Linked DNA regions of Homo sapiens: region 2 is linked to region 1. The links are contacts of gene promoters, found by promoter capture Hi-C in blood cells and fetal thymus (Javierre and others, 2016). All regions are on one chromosome and are shown on one strand. Each heading gives the region's core, a stretch centred on a gene start or on the middle of the fragment in contact. The rest is flanking DNA. Distances are from core to core; before and after follow the strand shown.

Region 1 (4,286 bases), core at 1,210-3,709:
TATGAAGTTTTCTCCAAGTGTCATGGGGAGGTATTAACATTATTTTACTGATGAAAAAGGCGGAATTTCCAAGGTTTGGCTGATTCAATGAGATAGTCACACTGTATCCCAAATCATTAAACAACACATATCTCATTATAAAACTACAGAAAACGCAACGAAATATTTTCTTAAAGGATATCAGCAGTTATATCAAATGTGATAAATCCCAGATCACTTCTTTCTCTAGGTCCAGTGAAATCTTCTACATTTTTTCTAGGAATAAAGATAAAAGTTTTACCATCCTTCCAACAGAACATACACAATTCACGTAACTTCTTAAAGAGAAAGAATACAGGTGTGTGCATAGGTGAAACTGCAATTCCACAAAGAAACGAGTAAACACCAGAGAAACCTGTAAGTGTGAAAACAGGAGAAACATTCTAATCCAATATTAAAGTAGGTCTTCAGCTAATTGCATATACCTCAAGAGAATCCCTAACAAAACTCAGAAGGGGATAAAAACTGCTAAAAAGAATAGTAAATACTTGATGTAAAGCAATTTTGCAGAATGGGTAGAAGAAAGCTACACATGACTACAAGGTGATACGAATACTAACAGATGGCATATTAAAGGGTGATACAGTAATCACCCCCTTATCCGAGGTTTCACTTTCCGGTTTCAATTATCCGCGGTCAATCTGGTGTGAAAATAGGTGAGTCCAGTAAAATAAGTTATTTTGAGAGAAGGGGAAAGAGATCATATTCACATAACTTTTATTATAGTATATTGTTACAGTTCTATTATGTTATTGTTAATCTCTTATTGTGCTTAACTTGTAAGTTTTATCATAGGTAGGTATGTATGTACGGTATAGGAAAAAACCAAGTATATATAGGGTTTGGTGCTATCCGTGGTTTCAGCCATCCACTGGGGGTCTTGGAACGTATACCTACCCCATTAAGGGGATACTACTGTAACCAGCTGCTATTTACTGTTTACTACGGCTCAGACCCACTGACAATATTTTTCACATTTCAAATAATTCTCACAACCTAAAAATTAGGTATTACTTCCATCTTAAACAAAAAGAAATTAAGGCCCAGAATGGTAAGAAAACTTGCTCAAGACAACAACAGCTAACATCTGTTCAGTGTTTAATATGCACCAAGCTCTTCTAACCCTCACAGGGCTGACAATGGCAGTGCTGATGTCCACCCCAGGTCTATTCGAACAATATCTAACAAACATCAGTACAGTAATTTAAAAAAAAAAAAAAAAGGTGGGGGGAGAAGGCTCGCTATTTGATAACTGGCTTCTTGGCGATTCTGACAAAGAAATAAACTAAGGTTAAAGAACTTGTGTAAGACGGAAATAGAGTAGAAGGGTATGAGAACAAGAGATGGAAAAATACGACGATTAAAGACAAAAGTGCCAGAGAATAAAATCAAGGACAAAATAGGCAATAGCGAAATGGCACTGTCATTTCGAACTGCATTTTTTGGCGTTTTCGCAGACTTCTTCAAGTGGTTGGCAAAAGAAAAAGAAATAAAGAAACCCAACAAAACAAAAATCTCGCTGTATCAGAAGGCTAAGATGCTTAATTCTCTCAGTGCCCAACATCTCTGGCCAACTTCAAAGCAGCTCCAACTGTTTACTGCCTTCTGAAGGTGCAAAGGCAACAACTGTAAAGGGAATGTCAAACAGGGCAAACTCGGGTGATGAATGACACAAAGACAACCCCGTCCTGTGGCCTCCAGAGCCGCCAGGAAACCCCACGGAAGCCCGACCCAGAGCGCGGCGGCAGCGCCTGGAGGGCCTCGCATGCGGACCACGAGCGGCACCGGACGCGCGGGAGGCGCCAGCCCAGGCGGGCGGCGGCGCCGGCTCTGCTGTTGTGTTGCTCCCTCATTGGCCAGGCGTGGGTGGAGGGAAGTGAGGAACAGGAAGCAAGCGGAGGCACCGACCTGAGGAACGCTCAAAATTAAAATTTAAGAGCAAGCCCGGGAATTTACGGTGGAGGGGTGCAAGTTCCGAGGGGACGCCGGAAAAGCCTGCGACGTCCACCCCTGACGACCGCCCTCGGGGGCGAACTGCCGCTCAGGAGGGCGATCCGGACGCCCTGCCCGCGGCCCCGGCACGGCAGCCCCGGCGCGGCGGCCCGGCTTCGGCTTCCGCCCCAGCCCGGTCCCGGCGTCCTGCACCGCCGGCCCGGCCTCACTCACAGCATGATCCGCGAGACGTGCAGCCGCACCGGGACGCTCCTGTCTTTGAAGGCGGTGGTGATGAAGCAGCCGAAGGTGAGCGCCGCCATCACGCTCAGCGAGAAGGCGAACAGTGAGTTCGCCCGCGACAGCACCGTGTTCATCGCGATCGTCTCCCACGAGTCCGGACTCCACACGCACACCCAGGCTCCCGTTCCGGCGGCGGACCGGCTCCCTGCGATCCGCGCCGTCTGCGGTGCGCGCGTTCCGGGAGCGCGCGCCGCCGCAGCCCCGCCTCCTTTCCGGTCCTCCGACGCGAGCGCGCGCGCGCCCGCTTCCCGAAACACACCCACAGCGCGCACGGGGCGGCGCGGAAAGGGAGAGACTCAGCCGCGGGCCCGCCCCTCCGTCGCGGCCTAACGCCGCCACCAATCAGCGACGAGTGAGGGAGGGGCGGGGTTTGTTGTGGAAGACCCACCCCCTCCTCTTCTAAATTGCTTCTCCGACCTTTGGGTTCAGAGAATTGGGAACCGGTCGTTCGCTGTCCTTTTTCGGTTCTTTGGTCAGAGGTCTGGGACTGCGACTTCTTGATTACTTATGTACCATTTATTTTCACTTGAAACCGGCAGCAAGTTAAGGTGGTTTAGAATCTGTCCTGACGGGTGGCGTTTGGAAGCAGCACTTTACAAAACGCCTGGTCCTCTCCCTTCTTTGTCAAACCTGGTCAAAGTTAGGACTTGAGCTTTTTTTGGAGGATCTGAGGAGCAGTGGGGAGTGGGGAATTAGCCGCCCAAGTCCTTAAAGCTGTCACGTGCATCAGTATTTCCACCTCCAACGTCAGTCCAATTCCTATTAATGCTTTGCTTTGTATGGATAGCTAAAGATGTTTTAGAAGATAAGGGTTGAGGCTACCGATCCTAAGTATTTGCATTTTAACATGGTGATTTCTGATAAATAAAAGGATAACCTTTCTGGGTTCTTAGGAGCAAAGAAGATAATGGCTGCGGAATTGCTCTACAGCATAATGTATAAGAATTTCGTTGGGTCATTAATAAATAATGCAATTATTTTATCACATTTTCAATATCCTGAAGGGCATTAGGGTTCAAACCGAGCCAATCCTGACTCTGATTATACTATCTGCCAAAACCTTTGTTCCTTTCACAGCTAAGGGTTTTTATAAAAATGGATTCAGGGTCTGCTGAAATAAATTTTTTTTAAAAATTTCAGTCCATAAACCAAACAAAAATATCTGTCCTGGAATGTGATCAGGAACAAACCAGAAAACTGTGAACATCTGATCTTGATACTGGCTTATGTTGTCTCTTGTTAAGCTTTTGCTTCTTTGCATTATTCATGACCATTCAATTAATTTTTGTATAGCCATACAGGTAGGATTATTACCAAGTGCCTACCGTGTACCAGGAATAGTTCTAAGCCTTGAGAATACAGCACTAATAAGGCAGACTCCCTGCTCAAATAGAGCCAACTAATGAAAAATCGATAAAATAGAGACTAAAGAGAGATCCTTAGTTGCGTTTAAAATCTTAGTTTTTAACTTCCAGGCTGGCACAGTTTGTTAACAAAAAAAGAAAAAAAAGGATTTTTATTGAATGCCATCTATACTGCAAGTGATACAGAGATTGTACTGATCACTTTCTACACTCAAAAGTATATAATCAGGTAGAGTTAATAAAATAAAAACAAATCTGAAATGTAAAACAAAAAAATACCCTGGGAAGTTACATAGCAAAGGAGGAAGGAATTACAGCCCTGGTAATGTGGGACAACACAGTGTGCAAATTATTTAACACAAAGCCTAAACAAGACACATTATTATTATAGCATGTTTTAGGGAAATAATTCTTGTTGTTGAACTGCAAGTACAGGTATATCTAAGAGATACTCAGAAGGCTGGTCCTGATAAACAATGCATGTATAAAAGAGTAAGCAGAAATAAGCCTGGAAAGGTAAGTTATGGTAGAAAACCAGGTCAAGAAGTTGACTTTATATCAGGGAAATTACATGTAAAACAAGCATCGCTACACAGGCAACCATTTACCAGTTATATGTGGAGAGTGAGTGATGGACCCAAAAGGAAG
Region 2 (4,286 bases), core at 606-3,105, 3.2 Mb after region 1:
TCACTGCTTGACTTAGCATTTATATCAGCCCCTTAGGTTAAAACCAGTTGTTTTAAGTAGAAGATGAGAGATTTTGCCTAAGACCATTTTTTTTGTGTGACAGAGATCTAGAGTGTGTAATTCACGAAGTATGAATCTGCTGGGTAATGTGATATGAAAAGCGAATGCACCATTTCTTGGTGATGATTCAGGTCAGCGTTGGGACCCAGGAATCTCCTGTTAATCAGTACCCTGGTGATTTTGATCCAGGTAATCTGGGCACCACCTTTGGAGAAACACTGAAAGGAAGCAAGGTTGCGGGGGGTGGTTGGGAAAAGTCTTATATGGATATCTTTGGAAGACAGAAATAGGCTCATTTATGGACTCAACTTGAACTGTTCAGAAGTGAGGTGGACTCCTTTTCTTTTTTATTTATTTTTTTTTTGAGTTGAGGTCTTGCTCTGTCACCCAGGCTGGAGTGCAGTGGCACATCCATAGCTCACTGCAGCCTGGAACTCCTGGGCTCAAGTGATCTTCCCACCTCAACCTCCCGAGTAGCTAGGACCACATGTGTGAGTCATCATGCCCAGCTAATTTTTTTTTTATTTTTTGTAGAGACGGGGTCTATTATCTGGTCCTGTTGTCAAGGCTGGTCTCAAACTCCTGGCCTCCAGCGATCCTCCCTTTTTGGCCTCCCAAGATGCTGGTATTACAGGCATGAGCCACCATGGTCCACCCGGACTCCTTTTCATAGGAGACAGTTCCCTAGGCAGAGACTGGGCTTGAAACAGGTAACTTACAAGGCATCCTGTGATCATAAGAGAATAATTCCATTTGAAATCAGCAGCTGAAGTCCACCTGAATAATTAAGTCTTTCACTTGTGTTATTTTCACAGGGGAGACAGTTTTTTATTCTTAAGAAGGTAGGAAGCTTTATTTTTACTGTTATGAGCATAGCTGGGCAAGTATGCAAATGGAAAGTGATACCTATCATCAAAGTATTGAGGATGGTCCTTTGAAGGCCCTAGTATTCTGAGAACATCCTGCCACCACTACCACCCCCCAACTTTAGTTTTACACAGAGAACTTAAAATATGTGTGAAAGAGTATATAGTTATACAGTTGTATATTGATGAATAGGTATATAGTTGTAAAAGTTTATGTTTCTCTGAGTCTTAATAACTTTTAAAAGAAACTGCAAGTAAACTAACACAGGAACAGAAAACGAAATATTGCATGTTCTCACTTATAAGTGGGAGCTAAATGATGAGAACACATGGACACATAGAGGGGAACAACACACACTGGGGCCTATTGGAGGGTGGAGGGTGGGAGGAGGGAGAGGATCAGGAAAAATAACTAATGTGGGTACTAGGCTTAATACCTGGGTGATGAAATAATCTGTACAAACCCCCATAACACAAGTTTACCTATGTACCAAACCTGCACATGTACCCCTGAACTTAAAAGTTTAAAAAAAGTGCAAATATACCTTAAAACATATGCCCATTGCAGTATTTGCTGGGAGGCAGCCTTTGTAGGGTTGACAGAACTCGTTTAGAAAATGAGGAGCTACATTCAAAGCTTCAGTCAAGATAAATCACGTACCTCTCTGAACCTAGGGCTTTTATCTGCCAAATAGTGATTACAATACTCAACCTTATGATGTTCTCAAAAGGAATAATTGAGATCAAGTACATATACAAATATAAAGTACAATTAGTGTAATGGAACAAGTCTCAGGTGCGTGTGGCTATAATTCTTGTTTTATGAATGCTGCAGTTCCTCTAAAGAAGAGGGTAGAGACTAGAACTGAATGAGATGGACATAGAGATGGCCAAGAAAAGCATCGTCCTCTGCCAAGTCATGGGGTCATGTGTGGTGGATGGTGACATGGTGTCCTCAGCTCAGAGTCCAGCTGGGGGCTCAGAAGCAAGGTAACTGAAGGGAGAGAATTATTTGAGCACCTAGTGTGTGTAAGATGCTTCACATTTATTATTTCACCTAACCTCTACACAACCTGTTGTGGGTATTACTGGTCTCAAGCTGGGATTCAAAGCAGGTTTTTCCAACCTCAGAATTCTTGCCAGACTGATTAGCCTTCTGCATCTGGAACATAAATGTTTTCAGGCAGCATAATGTGCAAGAGGTCAGAGCCTAAAGCTTTGTTATTTTTTAATTTCTCCACCATGTCAACTCTGTTACAGGGAAGCCCAGCAGAGGGAATTGTATCCATTTTGGGGCTACACTACCCCAATGCTATGCTGCAGCCAAGCTGAACTTCTAAGTTTCTAAATGTAACTCACTTACCTTCAGGCCTTTGTACGGGGAGTTCTTTTTGCCTGAAATACCTTCTGACATCTTAACATTACGCTTAGATGTCAGTTACAAAAAAGCTTTTTCTAGACTCTCTCACATGTCCCACTCCACACCCCTATATCTCTTCCCACCAATGTACTAGGGTAGGTATCCTGCTAGGTACTTCCACTGCACCCTCTACTTTTCTTCCCTAATGATTACCACTATATTGTAATTGCTTAATTTCTTTTTCCTATACCCAGATAAAAATGTGTATGAAGGTGGAGCCTTGTCTATCTAGTTCGTTATTGTTATCCGTGTCTGGTATGTGGAAAGGGCTCAGTGAGTATTTCTTGATGGAATGCTGAATGAATAATGGGATTGAAAATATAAAAGGCAGACAAAACTTAGAAGAGGGGCCAGGTTTACTTCAATTGCTATTCCTCCTCACTGGGAGGTTTTTCTTCCAAGGACAAAACTTTGGAGGTTTTATTAAATTAGAAAAGTGATTATTTTACATATGGTCATCATCATCAATTGATAGGCTGTTGTTTCCCCCTTACTCAGCATCCTACTAAGGCTGCTTAGAACTAAGAAGAAAGGGTAATTTTAATTTAAGTTCATATTTTTGTATGTACGGAGATTTAAAAAAAACAGCTACATTAAAATGGGAATATGTAGCCATAGGGAATTATTTGCAAACAAATTTCAGTATTATCTATGTGTGGTTGCCAAGAACTCAGGTTAAATTAGAGTCAGTGACCTCTAAATGACTAAATATCCTATCACCTATTCTATAAGCCATTTAATCACCTCTTTTCAAAGAAGAAGAGCACAATTGGTAGTATCTTTAAAGGAAGATACATTTTATTGTTTAGAAAATAACTACTATTTAGATATCAAGGGAAGCATAGTGTAAGTTTGTTAAGAATTTATTAATTTTGTGTACTGTTCATTAGTTACCTCTTACTGCTTAACAAATGACTCCAAAGTTTAGCACTTTCAAACAACAAACATTTACTTCACACAGTTCCTGAAGTCAGGAATCTAAGAGTGGCTTAACAAGGTGGTCTGGCTCAGGGTCTCTCATGAGGTTCTTACCAAACTATCAGCTGGGACCACTATCATAACCAACTGGGCCTGGAGAATTTGCTGTCAAGTTCACCCACATGGCCAGCAGGCAGGCCTCAGTTCCTCACTGGCAGGCGGTGGGAGGCTTCAGTTCCTTGTCACCTGGGCTTCTCCACAGGGCTACTCATGACATGCCAAGCTGACTTCCCCCCTTCATGAAAGATCTGAGGGAGAGAGAGCCCAAGGCAGAATCCACAGTCTTGTATAAGAAATAATCTGTATACTGCCTTCATCTGTAAAATGAAGGTGTTGGACCAAATGATCTTTAACATTCTTTCCAATACTGAAATTCTGAGATTTTCCTATGATGCCGATGTGTGATTGAGACTAATTTGTGCTTTCATGTGGAATACTATGAGGTAAAATCCTGCCTTTGTACTTTTTTTCTGACATGGGGTACTATTTCTATCATAAGCTTGAGATGGATAATTCCTGAGTTGTGCTCATCTGGAATAAAGGACTGTTGTCAAGGGCTTCCATTTAATGAGGTTAAGGGTCTCCTACAGTGTTTGGAAAGCAAAAATATTTATGTAAAAGCCCTCAGATTTCACATCGTAGAACACTACCTCTTCATAATTTGGTACTGTTTTTGGACTCCCATAATTCAGAAGTGCTCTTCTGATCTAACCATTTATTTAAGAGGTGATTGAAACGGATTTTGTCTCTTACCACTCTTGTTTAAAACCTCTTCAACAGCTTCCCATTGCTCTTATATTTAAGCCCAAATTCCTCCATTTATTACAAAGCCTTTGTGAGCTTGCCTCTGCTTACCTCTGCAGCCCCATGGCTGGTCAGTTATCCCCTCTTTTGCAACTTAAACTATAGCCATGTTGATTTTCTCTCCATTTCTGAAATAGGCTAACTTCCCTCTCACTTCT

Evidence for each region. Contacts are between HindIII fragments. The CHiCAGO score rates a contact against its expected background, and 5 or more counts as called.
Region 2: a fragment that was not itself captured here is called in contact with the fragment with the promoter of SPCS3 in region 1 in 1 of 17 cell types (activated CD4 T cells); the score reaches 5.6 in activated CD4 T cells.

The regions. Positions count from the first base shown.
Region 1 is chr4:176,318,139-176,322,424 of GRCh38, reverse strand. SPCS3 (signal peptidase complex subunit 3) reads right to left here and starts at 2,459. Exons shown (of 5, transcript NM_021928.4): 1 at 2,206-2,459; 2 at 182-255. The coding sequence starts at 2,348. It overlaps SPCS3-AS1 (SPCS3 antisense RNA 1), which reads left to right and starts at 1,915. Exons shown (of 4, transcript NR_186171.1): 1 at 1,915-2,280. RefSeq lists silencers at 1,746-1,825, 1,856-1,925, 2,046-2,165 and an enhancer at 2,148-2,648. The HindIII fragment of the contact is 6,231 bases long and covers 1-3,520 here.
Region 2 is chr4:173,162,608-173,166,893 of GRCh38, reverse strand. GALNT7-DT (GALNT7 divergent transcript) reads left to right here. Exons shown (of 7, transcript NR_134242.1): 3 at 104-249; 4 at 595-770; 5 at 1,762-1,916; 6 at 2,541-2,601. Among named protein-coding and RNA genes, the nearest start is that of GALNT7, 4.1 kb to the left of the region's middle. RefSeq lists an enhancer at 893-972. The HindIII fragment of the contact is 579 bases long and covers 1,566-2,144 here.